Regions from separate parts of the Homo sapiens genome. Here all the other regions are linked to region 2. The links are contacts of gene promoters, found by promoter capture Hi-C in blood cells and fetal thymus (Javierre and others, 2016). All regions are on one chromosome and are shown on one strand. Each heading gives the region's core, a stretch centred on a gene start or on the middle of the fragment in contact. The rest is flanking DNA. Distances are from core to core; before and after follow the strand shown. Region 1 overlaps UTY (ubiquitously transcribed tetratricopeptide repeat containing, Y-linked). Region 2 holds the start of UTY (ubiquitously transcribed tetratricopeptide repeat containing, Y-linked). Region 3 overlaps UTY (ubiquitously transcribed tetratricopeptide repeat containing, Y-linked).

Region 1 (2,700 bases), core at 16-2,515, 130 kb after region 2:
GCCCTGCTTGTGTTGAAAAACTTTTGTCCAGTGGAGCTTTTTCTGCAGGCTGTATTCCTTGTGGCACATCAAAAATTCTAGGAAGTACAGACACTATCTTGCTAGGCAGTAATTGTATAGCAGGAAGTGAAAGTAATGGAAATGTGCCTTACCTGCAGCAAAATACACACACTCTACCTCATAATCATACAGACCTGAACAGCAGCACAGAAGAGCCATGGAGAAAACAGCTATCTAACTCCGCTCAGGTAAAAAAAGGACTAGCTGCTTTCTTGGCTCTTATATAGTAGTTTATCTTTATTTAGTTTGTGTACATTCTAAAAAGATAGAAATTTAAAGAATGGCTTTGTCTTTAAAAAGTAATTTAAGTAATTGATAAGAGTATAAAACTTTTAAGTGATACCAGGATCATTACAGGCCTACCTTGGACATCTTACAGGTTTCATACAAGACAACTGCAATAAAGTGAGTATCATAATAAAGCCAATCACACTAATTTAGTTTTATTTTTTAGTGCATATAAAAGTTATGTTTACACTATATTATGTCAGTTTGCAATTATAATTTGTGTAAGCAAACAACATCTTACTTTGAAAATATTTTATTGCTTAAAAAAAGAAAGCCTGTGATCATTAAGCAAGTCATAATTTTTTTGGCGGTAGACGGTCTTGCCTCTATGGTGATGACTGCTCATTGATCAGGATGGTGTTTGCTGATGAAGTGGCTGTGACCCCTTAAGACAACAACGATATTTGCTACTGTGATCTTCCCTCCCTTCCTTCCCTCTTTCCTTCCTTCCTTGCTCCCTCTCTTCCTTTCCTCCCTCTCTCCTTCCCTGCCTCCCTTTTTTTTTGAGACAGAGTCTCACTCTGTTGCCCAGCCTGTGCAATGGGGCTATCTTGGCTCACTGTAACCTCTGCCTTCTAGGTTCAAATGATTCTCCTGCCTCAGCCTCCAAAGTAGCTGGGACTACACGCATGCCACCACTCCTAGCTAATTTTTGTAATTTTGGTGGAGATGGGGTTTCACCATGTTTGTCAGGCTGGTCTCAAACTCCTGATCTCAAGTGAAGTGCCCACCTCGGCCTCCGAAAGTGCTGGGATTACAGGCATGAGCCACCGTGCCCAACAAACTCTTTGTTTCTTGAAAGATTTCTTTGTAGGATGCCATGCTATTTGATGTTTTCCCAATGATATAACTTCTTTCAAAGTTAGAGTCAATCCTCTTGAACTTTGCCACTGCCTTTATCAAATAAATTTATGTAATATTCCAAATCGTTTGTTTGTATCACAGTAGTTAGTGTTCACAGCATTTCCCCAGGAGTGGATTTCCTCTCAGAAAACCACTTTCTTTTCTCATCCCTGAAACAACAACTTCTAATCCATTCAAAATTTGTTGTGCACTTGCAGCAATTCAGTCACTTCTTCAGGCTCCACCTGTCAAACTGTCTTGCCATTTCTACATCTGTAGTTCCTTCCTCAACTGAAGTCTTGAACACCTCAAAGTCATCCATGAGGATTGGAATCAACTTCTTCCACATTCATTTTGACCTCCTCCCATGAATCATGAAAGTCCTTAATGACATGTTGAATGACTGAATCCTTTTCAGAAAGTTTTCCCTTTCCTTTGCTTTATTAGAGGAATTGCTGTCTGTGTTAGTTATATATAGACTTATGAAATGAAATGTATTTCTTAAATAATAAGACTTAAAGTCAAAATTACTTCTTGATCCATGAGCCGCAGAATAGATACTGTGTTAGGCATGAAGACAAATTTAATCTCTTTTTACATCTGTCAGAGCTCTTGAATGACCAAATGTATATTTAATGAGGAATAGTATATTGAAAGGAATCTCTTTTTCTGAGTAGTAGCTATCCATATAGACTTAAAAGTATTCAGTAAACCATGATGTCAACAGTTGGGCTATCACACAGGCTTTGTTATCCCATTTATAAAGCACAGGCAGAGTGGATTTAGCATACCTCTTTAGGGCTGTGGGATTTTCAGAATGATAAATGAGCATTGCCTTCAGCTTATAGTCACCAGCCTTATTAGTTCCTAACAAAGGTGTCAGCCTGTCTTTTGAGGCCTTGAAACCAGGTGTTAACTTCTCTCTAGTTAGAAAAGACCTAAATCACATCTTCTTCCACTGTAATCTTCATTGAAAATCTATTGTTTAGTGTAGCCACCTTCATCAATGATACTAGCTAGGTCTTCTGGATAACTTGCTGCTTTACCTTGCACTTACTTATATTATGGAGATGACTTCTTTCCTTCTCCCTCATAAACCAACTTCTACTGGCTTCAGACTTTTCTTCTGCAGCTTCCTTACCACGGTCAGCCTTCATAGATTTGAAGGAGGGGTTTACACCCTTTTTCTGGATTAGGCTTTGGCTTGAGGGAATATTGTCAGTGATGAGACAGCTTTTATCTAGACCACTAAAACTTTCTTTATATCATCAATAAGGTTGTTTTGCTTTCTTAACATTTGTATGTCCATGGGAGTAACAGTTTTACTTTCCTTGGCCTTCACAACTCAGCTAACTGGTACAAGAGGGCTAGTTTTATGACTGTCTTGGCTTTGGACATGCCTTCCTCACTAACTTTAATTGTTCTAGCTTTGGATTTAAAGGGAGAGATGTGGCTTGGTACAGTGGCTCAGGCCTTTAATTACAAGACTGTGGGAGGCCAAGGCAGGAG
Region 2 (2,704 bases), core at 187-2,686:
GGAGGCTGATCAAGGACTCAAAAGCATGCAAACTCTTGTCTCTTATCTACATTTTTTTTTTTTTTTTTTTTTTTGAGACGGAGTTTTGCTCTTGTTGCCCAGGCTGGAATGCAATGGTGCCATCTCGGCTCACCGCAACCTCCGCCTCTTGGGTTCAAGCGATTCGCCTGCCTCAGTCTTCAGAGTAGCTGAGATTACAGGCATGCGCCACCATGCTCTGTTAATTTTGTATTTTTAGTAGAGACGGGGTTTTTCCATGTTGGTGACGCTGGTCTGAAACTCCCAACGTTAGGTCATCTGCCCGCCTCGGCCTCCCAAAGTGCTGGGATTACTGGCGTAAACCACAGCGCCCGACCTGTCTCTTATCTATTTCTAACATGGAAGCCCCCGCTTCGAGCTGTCCCTCTTACCTGACCGAACCAATCATGTTTCCCTAAAACGTACAAAAGCAAGCTGTGCCCTGACCACCTTGGGCAAATGTATCATGGGTAAGTCTTGCAAAATAAACTTTTTAAATTGACTAAGACCTCTCTCAGATATTTGGGGTTCAGAAATAAATTCTTTTACCTATTATTTATAATTTTGGTTACAATTGAGAAAGTAAGAAAAAAGTGGTGTTTTTTTCTTTTCTAAGGGTTACTGCATCTTGAAAGTGTGATGAAGGTCTTAATTATTGTTCTTATAATTCCTGTCCACAGAAGCTCCTACTCTTACTGAGACCTCACGGAATTATCATTATCACAATAGAAATAAACATTTTGGGTTTGTGGAGTAACTTTTTTTTTTTTTTTTTTTTTTGCTCATCGTTTGTTGTTTAGATAATATCATGAACTGATAAATGCAGTTGCCACGTTGATTCCCTAGGGCCTGGCTTACCGACTGAGGTCATAAGATATTATGCCTTCTCTTTAGACTTGGTCAGTGGAGAGGAAATGGGCAAAGAACCAGCCTATGGAGGTGACAAGGCCTTAGGGCCAAAAGTCTTGAGGGTGAAGGTTTAGGGCCTGCGCAGCTTCCCTGCCATGCCCCGCAAGGTCTCGCATTCGCAAGGCTTGTGACAGTGGGAGCCTCATTACGGACTCTCCTAAAGTCCATGGTGTCCTCTTTTCGCATTTGCGCCCCGTGGGTGATGCCCGATGCCGCCCTTCCCATCGCTCTCTTCCCCTTCAAGCGTATCGCAACTGCAAAAACACCCAGCACAGACACTCCATTTTCTATCTTAATGCATTTAACTAGCACAACCTACAGGTTGTTCCATCCCAGAGACTACCCTTTTCTCCATAGACGTGACCATCAACCAACCAGCGGTCAGAATCAGTCAGCCTCTGTCATGTTCCTAGGTCCTTGGCGAACTGGCTGGGCGGGGTCCCAGCAGCCTAGGAGTACAGTGGAGCAATGCCTGACGTAAGTCAACAAAGATCACGTGAGACGAATCAGTCGCCTAGATTGGCTACAACTAAGTGGTTGGGAGCGGGGAGGTCGCGGCGGCTGCGTGGGGTTCGCCCGTGACACAATTACAACTTTGTGCTGGTGCTGGCAAAGTTTGTGATTTTAAGAAATTCTGCTGTGCTCTCCAGCACTGCGAGCTTCTGCCTTCCCTGTAGTTTCCCAGATGTGATCCAGGTAGCCGAGTTCCGCTGCCCGTGCTTCGGTAGCTTAAGTCTTTGCCTCAGCTTTTTTCCTTGCAGCCGCTGAGGAGGCGATAAAATTGGCGTCACAGTCTCAAGCAGCGATTGAAGGCGTCTTTTCAACTACTCGATTAAGGTTGGGTATCGTCGTGGGACTTGGAAATTTGTTGTTTCCATGAAATCCTGCGCAGTGTCGCTCACTACCGCCGCTGTTGCCTTCGGTGATGAGGCAAAGAAAATGGCGGAAGGAAAAGCGAGCCGCGAGAGTGAAGAGGAGTCTGTTAGCCTGACAGTCGAGGAAAGGGAGGCGCTTGGTGGCATGGACAGGTACGCACCTCCATCACCCGCCTGGTTGGCTGGCGATACTCTCCGGGAAGGCCTGGACGCAGCTTGCCCACGTTGATGACGGGGTCATCCTCAGCTTGGCACTCACCAATCTGTCGCTGTCGCTCTTGGACTCGGGAAGGAGCAAGTCACTGGCTTTCTCAGACCATTAACAAGCTCTGTGTCTCTCTCTCTACAGCCGTCTCTTCGGGTTCGTGAGGCTTCATGAAGATGGCGCCAGAACGAAGACCCTACTAGGCAAGGTAAAAGCAACCAGACGCAAAGTCTTTGGTCCGCACTTTGCTCTACCAAGGCCCCGCGTTCCTTACCGCCCAGCCAGTATTTATTTTGGCTCTGCTCCATGGCCAAGGGGTCGGAAAAGTGTTTCTTGCCTTTGCTGTCCCCGTACTCTGGAATACTTCGCCCCTTGCTCCAGACTCCCTTCTACTCTGAGGAAAAAAAAAATCGGACGCTTTGGGACCGGGCTAAACCGGGTCTACACCACATGCCTGTTACTTTAGGGCCTTTTGTTCCTGAATTTTAGCGTCACAAATAGTGAATGTGTACAGTTTTCAAAATTCATAACTTCCTGCTTCTTCCCCTCGCCTTTTGGTATTTGGCTCTTGGTGTCTAATTTTAAACATTTTTTTGCCTTTTTAAAAAAAATATCCCTGGTGTCCTAAGTGTAAGTAGCAAGTAAGTTACAGCGGTGAAGAGTTTGCAGTAGATATTTGACCTATAAACTGATGCGT
Region 3 (2,700 bases), core at 8-2,507, 91 kb after region 2:
GTCTCACAATTCCAATGGCATTTGCACAGAAATACAAAAAACTATTGTAAAATTTGTGTGGAATCAAAAGACACCCTGAAGAACTAAAGGAATCTTGGACAAGATAAACAAGGCTGGGCCATTACACTTCCTAATTTCAGAGTACGTTACAAAGCGACAGTAATGAAAATGGTAAGATAGTGACTGGTATGTAAAAAAATACATAGAACAATGGTACTTTATACAAAGCCTGGAAGAAAACCCCACATAGATAGGGTCAGCTGGTATTTGACAAAGGATCCAAGAAAATACAGTGGAAAAGGATAGTCTTTTTTGGGGAAAACTGGACATCCACATATATAAAAATGGAATTAGATTTTTATCTTACATCATACACAAAAAGCAACTCAAAATGAATTGAGGACTTATAAACATAAGACTTAAAACCATAATAGAAGAAAAGAGCAGGGAAAGCTGCATGACATTGATCTTAGCAGTGATTTTTCTGGATGTGGCACTAAAGACATAGGTAATAAAAGCAAAAATAGGTGGATTGCATCAAACTGAAAAGCTTGTATACAGCAAAGAAAGCAATCAACAAAGTTAAAAGCATCCTGGGAGTTTGGGAGATGGTACTTGCCAACCATAAATTCCAATAAGGGTTAATACCCCAAATATCTCCAAAACTCATATTACTTAGTAACCAAAAAGTAACCTACAAGTAAAAGTGGGCAAAAGGACCTGGATAGACATTTTTCCAAAGAAAGTATAGTAATGGTCAACAGGTATATGACACACTGCTTAGTAGAACTAATCAGGGAATTTCAAATCAAATCCATCATGAAATATCACCTCATATCTTAGGATGGCTTTATTAGTCAGTTTTCATACTGCTGATAAAGACATACCCAAGACTGGGAAATTTAGAAAGAGGTTTAATTGACTCACAGTACTACATGGCTGGAAGGCCTCTGGAAACTTAGAATCATGGCAGAAGGTGAGGGAAAGCAAGGCACTTCTTCACAAGGCGGCAGGAGAATTGTCAAGCAGAGACGGAAGAGCCCAATAAAATCATTAGATCTTGTGAGAACTCACTATCACAAGAACAGCATGGAGGAAACCACCCCCATGCACCTGGTCTCCCTTGACACGTGGGTATTTGTGGAGATTACAATTGAAGATGAGATTTGGGTGGGGGCACAAAGCCTAACTACATCAGTGGATGTTAATCAAAAAGTTAAAAGTGATACTGAGGATGTGGAGAAAAGAGAACAAACCATACAGTCCTGGTGGGGGATATAAATTGGTACAGCCATTATGGAAAACAGATGAAGGTTACTTAAAAAATTAAAAATAGAGCTACCATATAATCCAGCCATTCACTTCGTATATATCCAAAGGAAACAACATCAGCATCTGTCTGCACTTCATACTAATTGTAGTATTATTTGCAGTAGCCAAGAAACAAACTACATGGCCATTGAAAGATGAATGGATGAAGAAAACAGGGGAGGGTGTATCTAAATATATACACAATGGAATGTTATTTGACCTTTACTATAATGCATGTTGTGAAATGTTTAAAGACACATGTATAACATAAGTATCTACAAATGCTATTTGCATGCAACATGCAGTAACATCTATGTTAGTTTTCTTCTTGGATATTTTTTGTTCATTTTGATAAGATAACTGGAGCATTTCATCATCTATTGTTACTTCTTTTGGTGTTATTTGTACATGTTTTTAACATAGTAAATCTCCTTAAGCCTACTTTATTTTAGTTTTGTATTTAGAAATTACCTAAATGAATCCAGAAGTTGAATCCTTGAAAAGATCAAATGGATATTTCTCACAGATGAAAAAAATGAAAAATGTTAAAAGTAGTGTTGGAGAAATTTGCTACAGGGTTACAGATGTGTTAATAGAAGATATTTTAGAACTATTGTATAAAAATATAACAAGTTTGAAAATCTAGAAGCTTTTTCCTAGCAGAACATAAATGATGAAATTTTACCCAGAAGTAGAAAACTTGAGTGGGCAAGTTGCTGCTCCAGTCTTATTCATAGAAATTAAATTTTTTATTGTTGTTAAGACAGAGTTTCACTGTTGTTGCCCAGGCTGGAGTGCATTGGTGCGATCTCAGCTCACTGCAACCTCTGCCTCCCGGGGTCGAGTGATTCCCCTGCCTCAGCCTCCCTAGTAGCTGGCATTATAGATGCCTGCCACCATGCCCAGCTGATTTTTGTATTTTTAGTAGAGAAGGGATTTCACCGCATTTGCCAGGCTGGCCTCAAACTCTTGACCTCAGGTGATCCACCCACCTCAGCTTCTCAAAATGCTGGGATTGCAGGCATGAGCCACTGCACCCAGCCAGAAATTAAAATTTAATATAAAAATTTTAAAAGGAAAACCTTTTCTGACTAGTCTTTCAGATTTAGAAACTAGTGATATTTTAACATTCATTTTGTTACTATAATGCTGCATAATTTTGAATGTGTTTGTACAAAATGAAAAGAAAAAGGGTCTGTGAATTCTTCTTCCCTCTGCCTCTAACTATATTTATTACCAAAGCCACCTGTGTTAATAGTTATTTGAGTATTGTACAAAACTCTTTTGTTTAGGTAAATTCACACATGTATTTGTATAATTTGTTTTTGTTTTCCTTTATTCAAATTATATGTAGCCTGTGAGCATACTCTGACTCTGAAGTTTTTTTGT

Evidence for each region. The method cuts DNA at HindIII sites, captures the fragments that hold promoters and counts their contacts. A CHiCAGO score of 5 or more calls a contact.
Region 1: a contact is called between a fragment that was not itself captured here and the fragment with the promoter of UTY in region 2, in 1 of 17 cell types (monocytes). The highest score is 6.4, in monocytes.
Region 3: a contact is called between a fragment that was not itself captured here and the fragment with the promoter of UTY in region 2, in 1 of 17 cell types (fetal thymus). The highest score is 5.1, in fetal thymus.

What each region holds. Positions count from the first base shown.
Region 1 is chrY:13,352,551-13,355,250 of GRCh38, reverse strand. UTY (ubiquitously transcribed tetratricopeptide repeat containing, Y-linked) reads left to right here. Exons shown (of 30, transcript NM_001258249.2): 17 at 1-248. Among named protein-coding and RNA genes, the nearest start is that of MIR12120, 130 kb to the left of the region's middle. The HindIII fragment of the contact is 8,782 bases long and covers 1-2,700 here.
Region 2 is chrY:13,478,765-13,481,468 of GRCh38, reverse strand. UTY (ubiquitously transcribed tetratricopeptide repeat containing, Y-linked) reads left to right here and starts at 1,436. Exons shown (of 30, transcript NM_001258249.2): 1 at 1,436-1,955; 2 at 2,152-2,215. The coding sequence starts at 1,804. It overlaps MIR12120 (microRNA 12120), which reads right to left and starts at 2,292; the gene lies at 2,203-2,292. The HindIII fragment of the contact is 7,265 bases long and covers 1-2,704 here.
Region 3 is chrY:13,387,182-13,389,881 of GRCh38, reverse strand. The region is part of intron 8 of UTY (ubiquitously transcribed tetratricopeptide repeat containing, Y-linked); the gene reads left to right. Among named protein-coding and RNA genes, the nearest start is that of MIR12120, 91 kb to the left of the region's middle. The HindIII fragment of the contact is 1,410 bases long and covers 553-1,962 here.